2 separate regions of the Homo sapiens genome follow, and region 1 is linked to region 2. Evidence: promoter capture Hi-C in human tissues and cell types (Jung and others, 2019). All regions are on one chromosome and are shown on one strand. Each heading gives the region's core, a stretch centred on a gene start or on the middle of the fragment in contact. The rest is flanking DNA. Distances are from core to core; before and after follow the strand shown.

Region 1 (4,033 bases), core at 668-3,167, 310 kb before region 2:
AATTTTCTTTTGACATATGATATATACTATGGATTTAAATAATTTTCTCTCCATTCCTCTTTGCTACATAATAACATTTTAAACATATCTAGTTAAGGATAAACTTTAGTCCAGCTCCTTCTAATTCAGAATTATTATAGCTCATCCAAAGTACTGAGGTGTTGTGTGTGTAAAATAGTATCATGAACAGGACGGGGGCACAGTGAGATCAGCCCCTGTCAAGTGATACCTGGGAATCTAGCAAGGTGAGCGCACAGTCTTCTCGTGGATTATGTTGTATTTGCGGCTACCTGTGGGCCTCTAGGGTCCCTTTTTGTATGATGTCCTTCAAATAAACATTGTCTCCATATGAATGACACAGGAATCTGGGACAGTTTCTCCTTGTACACAACATGATCATTCTACAAAATCGTATCTAGGAAGGAATCTAATGTTTAACAGCAAGATTTCCCCACAGCCACTGTTAGATAAATCTCCGTCTGGTCATACAGAGGGGAGGCTAGAGAGAAGTGAAATTGTAAGCATGAAAACACACATCTCACTTCTCATCTGGACTCTAGATGGAAGTCAAAGATGACAACAGTAGTCTGACATTCTTAAGTCGTATCATTTGTTAATTTATTTATATTTGCTGGTACCCTTCCTAGATTCTTACACACCCTGCCCAGACTCTTACACACATGACCCTGTGAGGACATGCATGTATTTAAAATAAGGTGAATGATACCCAGGGTGTAGTCTGTGCTTACGGAAGTACACACGCCTGACCCAAGGGAATGTCGAACTTCATTCACGGCTGAGCTGACTGCACCAAAATGGTGGCTCAGAGCTGTTTGCAAAGTTATGCTTTAGAAACAGACGCGAATGGGGGCCAGGTTAGGCCACATGTAGCTGAAACTTCATGCACCAAAAGTACATCCTTTTAGATGAAGTTGAGCTTCAACACAAGTCTGAGCTTTCTGCTAACGACACTGATAAACCATGTGCTGTCAAAAAGCGCATTCCTGCAGCTGACTTGAGATCATTAGTTTCCAAATGCCTCATAATAAACCTCATTTGTATTCTTTCTTTTTCTCAGGGAATGAAGTGGATCTTGGCCCATTTCTTTTCATTTATTTGAACTAAAAATTAGGTCTCTCATTTGTTTTACTGCTTTCATTTTTGAGAGAAGAAAATGATGAATGCATCCATGAATTTTTTCAGCAAAGAATGGCAATAAGAATTCTTCACTGCCCAACATATATCCATTGTATTTCTAACTCCCTTTTTCGCTGTTGGATTAAAATTTGCTTTTATGAATATGAATACCGCCATTTCCTTCTAAAAAAAATTGTTCTGTTTTCTTTGTTCTATTTTCTCGGCTCAGCTGACCTTGTACTTTAAATATGATGGTGACTTCATTCAAATAATGTTACAAAAGCTAAAATGGAAAATGAAAATAAAAACTGTAAAAAGAAAATTGAAATATCAGTTTCTGTTTGCTTGTATTTAAGATTTAAGAATGTTTTTGAATAACGAATGCATTGTAACTGGAATATCAAACTCAGGCAATATTGAATCCTGCTTTTAAAAAATGTCCTTCAAGTTTTAGTTGCCCCCTTCTCAAATGCAAATCAGTCACTCGGCGCATCTTTATCTATTATGCTAGTTACCATGATAGATGTTGGCATTACAGCATCAAACAAAACAGACAGAAATTCCTGAGCCTATGCGTTGAATACCCAGATGGGATCTGTCTTATATATCCATCCAATGTTCTGTTTCTGTAGCCCAGGGTATACTAGTATCTCTTATTTCCTTTCCTTTCAGCCTGGTTTTGAAAGAATTTTAATAGTGCATACAACTGAAACCAGGTTAAAGATATCCTGAGACCATGGCTGTTTACAGAAAACTTTGTAATGTTTACGATCCAGTTAAGCTGGGCTGTGGCTGAGGCTCTTGACACATGGTGCCCTCTATATTTCTATAAAAGGGAGAAAATATATTGTACTTCTGGTCCTTCAAGTCATGGTTTAGGCTGAGACAAGCATTCTTTAAAAAAAAAAATCACCTTTGATAATCTAGTATCTACAAGCCAAACGCTGTCATGTCTAGCATTTAAGTATTTTAAAGATTAAACAATTTATCCTCAGAAAGAAAATAAGAAAACCATTGTTGTGTGTTTACCAGGCCTGTCCTAGGCCTATTCACACGTGTTATCCAAATTCAATTATTGCAGCCACCATTGAGATTATATTTTTTACACTTGTGAATACTTTGCTCAAAAACCACACATCTAGAGTCATGATGGATTCCCACAAGGGCAAGACCAGGGAAGGGGAGGACCGCTGGCCTTCAGGGAGTCCCTGGTAGGAATGGTAGCCTTTCCCTCTGTGGATCCAAGGAGGGCCACAAATCTCTAAGGCACAGATCCAAGGCAGAAAGTCAGACCTGAATCCAATTTCATGCTTAGGTGGTCAGGACAGAAGAAAAAAAAGAAGAAGAAGAAGGGGAAAGGAGCACCTTGTTAGACTTCCATTTGCCCATGACACTCTCTAATATGAGGGGTATGATCAGAAATAGGACACAGTCCTCGGCAATGTGCCTGACAAGCAGGGGATGAAGACAGCCAGTGCCTGTTCAGAGACGCAGAAAGACAGAAGCTTCAGACACCCCCTGCCTGGAAAAGCGAGGGACCGGAAGACAGTGGGCTGAGGTACGCCCAATGATCACTAGTAGTAGATGGAATTTGTCTGAAGCTAGGAAAGAACTGAGAATCAAAACTCAAACCCGTGTTTGCCAAATGTGACACCCGACATGAAATGGAGGCTACCATGCTTAGCTCCATCTAAAGGAGGTGTAGTGAGACCAAATGCTTGTTAAGCCCTGACAGGCAGCCTTGTGCTGTGCTGGAGCTGGCTCAGTTCACCAAATGAACTCAAGAAACGGGAGCCCGGTCTTGTATATGGAGTCATAAAGGAGAAATGCTGGGATAACTTGGAGGGAGGCTGAAAATCTAAACAAGTTTTTAAGCTGTTCTTGTCATTGCTGATGGCATGTTTCTGAGGACAGGGGCCAATGAGTGAAGGAAAAAGACTGAAGGAAGCTTCAGGAGGAGGATTCCGGGCTGTAATTGTCTTGCCTTTTGGAGTTGTGTTTCATTCTCAAGTGTTTAGCTCTGCAGCATTCTCCCTTCCTTGCATAAACCTTTTTCACCATGGCTGAGTGGATTTGTTTTTTAAATTAAAGTGCATTAAAATACATTTTGTTGATAATAGATTGAAATGTTTATATAAATATAATTACAAATGTACTTTTCTGTCACAAAGCAAGAATGGAAATCACTAATGTACCAATTTAATGCTGCTGTGAATAAATATAAAAAGAATTTAGCTGGTAGGCTGAAAAATCTTTACCCACATTTGAAAAATTTTGTAAATAAAGCTAAACACTCATCAGTAGCTTTGTACTTATTTTAAAATTTGTATTGATACATAACTGAACCTGTTGATGGGGAAAGTGTGATATCTGGATGTTCACATACAATGTGTAATGACCAAATCAGGGTAATTATCACCTAAACAATCACCTAAAACATTTATCATTTCTTTGTGCTGGGAACATTTAAAATATTTTCCTCTATTTTGAAATATATGATAAATTATTGTTGACTATAGTCGCCCTACTGTGTTATCAAACACTGGAACTTATTTTTTCCATCTAATTCTATGTTTCTACCCATTAACCAACCTCTCTTCACTCCTCCCAGCCTCTGGTAACTGTCAATAAAAGCATTACCTTGACTGAAGTGTGTTTCTCTTTGTCCGTCTTTCCAGAAGACAACCCTGGCACGGGAGGTTTTCTGGTCTTACTGGTGGATATCCATTTTTGGCAGCTTTCTGACACTGTTTCATAATTTCTATGGCCTGCTATTTGCTTTTCTGTTAATGTCTGTATATATTTTCTAACTTGGAACCAACCAGACGGGCCTCCTTATCCAAAGTATTTCATGCTGAGATGCTGAAGGGGAAAATGCTCTTCCAGCAATTGCTTG
Region 2 (3,913 bases), core at 145-2,644:
CCAGGATGGTCTCGTGGATGTTCTGCGCCACCACCGAGTCGTCCGCCTGCATCCACAGCTCGCCGGGGCCTGTGACGGCCGAGCGGCCCACCTCGATGAAGAAGAAGCTGTCCGAGTGGCCGCAGCGGCGGATGTTCATGAGCTGCAGCGTCACCGACGGCTGCTCGCAGTTGAGCTTCACGAAGCCGATGGTGCGCGCAGACAGGCACAGACGGTACACCCCCGTCAGGTTCTTGCTCTGGCCCAGACCCTTGGGCTTCAGGTTCACCTGCCACACCTCACGGTAGGCGGCCGTGGCGGGAGCCACCAGCCCGTAGCTGTCCTCGGCCCCGGCGGCGCCGGCAGAGCCGCCCAGGGCGCCGGGCAGGGAGGCGCTGCAGGACGCGGCGGGCGCGGCGGCGGGGGGCGCGTCTCCGGCGGCCGCGCGGCCCTCGCTGACCAGGTCGGTGAGCGCGCGGTACCAGCCCTCCTGCTCCTGCTCGTTCTCGGCGGCCACGGCGAAGTACTCGTCCTTGGTGTAGAGGGCGATCAGGTACTTGTGCTTGGCGTCGGCGCGCTTGTTGATGTTCAGGCAGCAGTCGAGAGCGATCACCCGTTTCGGCGCGCCTGCCTTGCTCCGCCACTTTTTCTCGCTCTCGTAGTACTCGAGCCGCGGCGGTTGCGGCGCCGACCCCCCGCCCGCCGTCGCCTCGTCGCCGCCCGCGCCGGGTCCGCGCAGCACGAAGAAGCGCTTGTGGCCATGCTTCTGCTTGCGCAGGTAGCCGCACTTGCGCACGCTGTGGTTGTTGTTGTTGTTGTTGTTGTTGAGGTTGGGGCCGTCTCCGCTCGCCGGCCCGGGCGGCCCGTGCCGCGGCGGGCTCGCCATCGCGGGCGCTTCAGGCCGCGCGGCCCGGGCCCGGCGCCCAGGGGTTGGGGCGAGGGGCGGAGGGGGCGCGGGCGGGGGCGGCTCCCTCCCACCCTTGCGCCCGGCCGCCCGCCCGATCACGCGTCCCTCGGGCCCAGGCGGTGGGGAAGGTCCGGGGAGGCCCGCGGGGGCCAGCACCGCTCGGCGGCGCCGCGCCCTCCGCGCTCTGGGGCTCCTGAGGATGCCCGGCGCGGGCGGTGGCCGCCCCCCTCCCCGGCTGCCTGCGGCCGCTGCCTCCTCGGGCTCTCGGGCGGCGCCGGGGGACGCGCTCGCTGGGCCGGGAGTCGGGGTCCCCGAGCCGCGGGGCCGAGCCTAAGGCGCGCGCGGCCGCACCGGGGCTGCTGCCGCCGCGTCGCGCTCCGGGAAGCCGGGGTGCGCCCGGGCGCTCGGGGTCCGCGCCGCCGCCGGGGCTGCTGCTGCTGCTGGTGTTGCTGCTGCTGCTGCCAACGGCGACCCGGGCTCGTCGCGGTCCCCGCCGCACAGTGAGTAACACATCGCGCACCGAGTGACTGAACTAAGAAGAGCAAAACAACATGTGACTCGGCGTTACGCAGGCACACACAGCGCGGCCGCCCCGCCCCGCTGCCTCGCATTGGCGCCGCGCCCCCCGACGGACGGCGCGCTCGGCCAATCGGCGCGGCGCTCGCGGGGGCGGGCCGCGCGCCCCCGCCCCGCCCCCCTTTCTCCCCGGGCCGCGTTTCCCGCCGTCCCCTCCCCCTCCCGCGAAGGCCCCGGCCCGGCCGGGCGGGGTGGGGCGGCCCCGGCCTCATTAATCAGCGGCTTGTTGTGGATGCCGGCGGAGGAGATGCCACCCAGGGCGGGAAAAGGGGCGCGGAAGAGGGGCGGGGCGGGCCACGGCGCGCAGGGCCCTTCCCTCCCGCCTCGGACTCAATTAATTGGGCTTGAGCTTCCGCCGGGGAGGGGGCGCCGGGCGGGGCCGCGGCTGGGCGGGGCGGGGGATCGGGATCGGCGGCGGGGGCTGCGGCCTTGCAGTGGAAGCATGGGCGGCGAGCCGGGCCGTGCTCTCGGGGCGCGGGGTCCCCATTTTGGGCGAGGGCGGCCGCTCCCGCGCTCGGGGTGGGCGCGCCCCATCCCCGTCCCCCGTTTCCCGTCCCCGTCTCCCGGCCGCATCTCCGTCCCCCCGCAGCCGCGAAACGCGGGGAGGTTCCAGGGCCCGCGGCCGCGGGTTCGCGAGCACCGCGCTCCAGATCGAGAGCGGCGCGCGCCCTTCCGTGGAGGACAGAGGGGCGCGGAGGGGGCGCCTGTGTCCCACCCGCTCGCGGGCGCTTTACGGGGCGTCCTCTGCGCCATTCACTTGTCAGCTTGTCGGGAAGTTGAAATCGCGTTTGGGAGGTAATAGGAGAAAGAGATCGGGGACGGCAGGCGGAGAAAGTGCGGTTTCCATAGCGCCGGGGAGAGGGCGGACCCGCGAGCCAGCGGTCCCTGAGCCGGGAGACCGCGCGGGCGTCTCTCCAGCCCCCGCAGGAGCGCCGCCTTCCTTCCGCAGGGGCGTCCTCTCCCCCCACCGCTGCAGGAGCACCCCCTTCCTTCCTCGGAAGCGTCCTCTCACCACACCGCTTCAAGAGCCCCCCCTTCCTTCCACAGGGGCGTCCTTTCCCCCTCCGAGGCAGGAGCGCCCCTTTTCCCCCCACAGGAGCGCCCTCCCCACCCCAGGAGCGCCCTGCGCCCAGCAGACGGGCAGGTGGGCGGGCGTCCACTACCTGTGTGCGCGGTGCGGGCGGTGACTGCCAAGTTGGAGATGCCCTTGGAGAACTGCTTCGAATTCATGTATCTACTGGGCTTTTGTGACTTTCAAAGCCTATAGCAAATAAGCACCCCTGCAATTACGTCTCCTCAATGACCAAGTCAGGGTGAGGTGAGGGCTTCCTGAGTTCAGATCCCAGCAAGCTCCCGATCCTGCGCAACGAAGAAAACTCAACAAAACAGGCTTTGGCTGTTTATTTTATTTTTTTTTTAATTGTGCCTTCATGAAATAATTTACAGCAATAATTTATCTTATAATATTGGTTATTGTTTTTAAGTCCCGGATGTTTACTTTTGGATGTCCTCTATAATTCATAGAAGTATCTTAAAAGTAATAAAATCTTAATCTAAGAGAAAATAAGTGTAATTTTTGAAAGAGTGATATATATTTTAATATGTTTTTGTAACATGTGACTTGAAGATTGTGTTGGCTAATTTTATGTGCCAAGAGAGCCCTGACTAGTACAAAGATTATAGCGTTTTTATTTTTAGCATGTATACAGTTAGGATTATTGATCAGTAGCCTGAATTTGGGAAGAATAATCATTGTGGCAAATATCACCCAGTGTGCCTCAAAAAGGTGTGTTTAAAGTTGATCTTCCATTTTTAAATCATACCTTAAAAAAAAATACCTCAAGAAATGCCATTTTAAGTCTGTGCACCTATGTGTGCATGTGTGCGTGTTTGTTTATATAATAGATTGTGTGATTGTGTGTGTATAGGTATGTGTGTATGATTGTGTGTGTTGGGGGCGCCACCTTTATGAACATTATGCTTCGGCGTTCTTTTTAGATCTTGTTACCTTTTCTTACGTTCACAAATGTTGCCTAGCAATATGTCTAGTCAGGAAAGATGAAGGGATTCTTATCTTGGTGCTTGAAGAAAATGTGGTGTAGTTTTATTGGCTTTGTGATCACTTACATCCCACTTTTATGAGGATGTAAATGGGCCACCTCTATGTTCCTGTATGTTGCCAGCCATCAGTAGACAATGCTAAAGGAACCACCACTTTTAAACATCATGTGATGGTTTCTTCTGAGAAAGTATATTTTGCAATCTTTTTCTTTTTCATGTTGACTTTTATTATGCAGTTGCATTTTCATATCCGTATTGAACATTTACTTGCTGTGCCTGTCACACGCTAGCAGGTGTCATCTTTTCCTGTTTGCTTGTTTCTTGGGGCCATCCTAGTGTTAAAGGCCAGTGTTTTTAAGGTGTCAGCAGCTCTGGATTGGCAGTTAGCAC

What was found. Contacts are between HindIII fragments. The study calls those that stand out against the background at their distance.
Region 1: a fragment that was not itself captured here is called in contact with the fragment with the promoter of IRS2 in region 2 in 1 of the 25 tissues and cell types used here (lymphoblastoid cells).

What each region holds. Positions count from the first base shown.
Region 1 is chr13:109,469,889-109,473,921 of GRCh38, forward strand. No RefSeq gene overlaps it. Among named protein-coding and RNA genes, the nearest start is that of LINC00399, 71 kb to the left of the region's middle. The HindIII fragment of the contact is 3,607 bases long and covers 115-3,721 here.
Region 2 is chr13:109,785,189-109,789,101 of GRCh38, forward strand. It overlaps IRS2 (insulin receptor substrate 2), which reads right to left and starts at 1,395. Exons shown (of 2, transcript NM_003749.3): 1 at 1-1,395. The coding sequence starts at 865. It overlaps LOC124903211 (WAS/WASL-interacting protein family member 1-like), which reads left to right and starts at 1,896. Exons shown (of 2, transcript XM_047430835.1): 1 at 1,896-2,257; 2 at 2,412-3,913. The coding sequence starts at 1,905. The coding sequence ends at 2,649. RefSeq lists an enhancer at 1-531 and silencers at 1,373-1,602, 1,623-1,792. The HindIII fragment of the contact is 26,611 bases long and covers 1-3,913 here.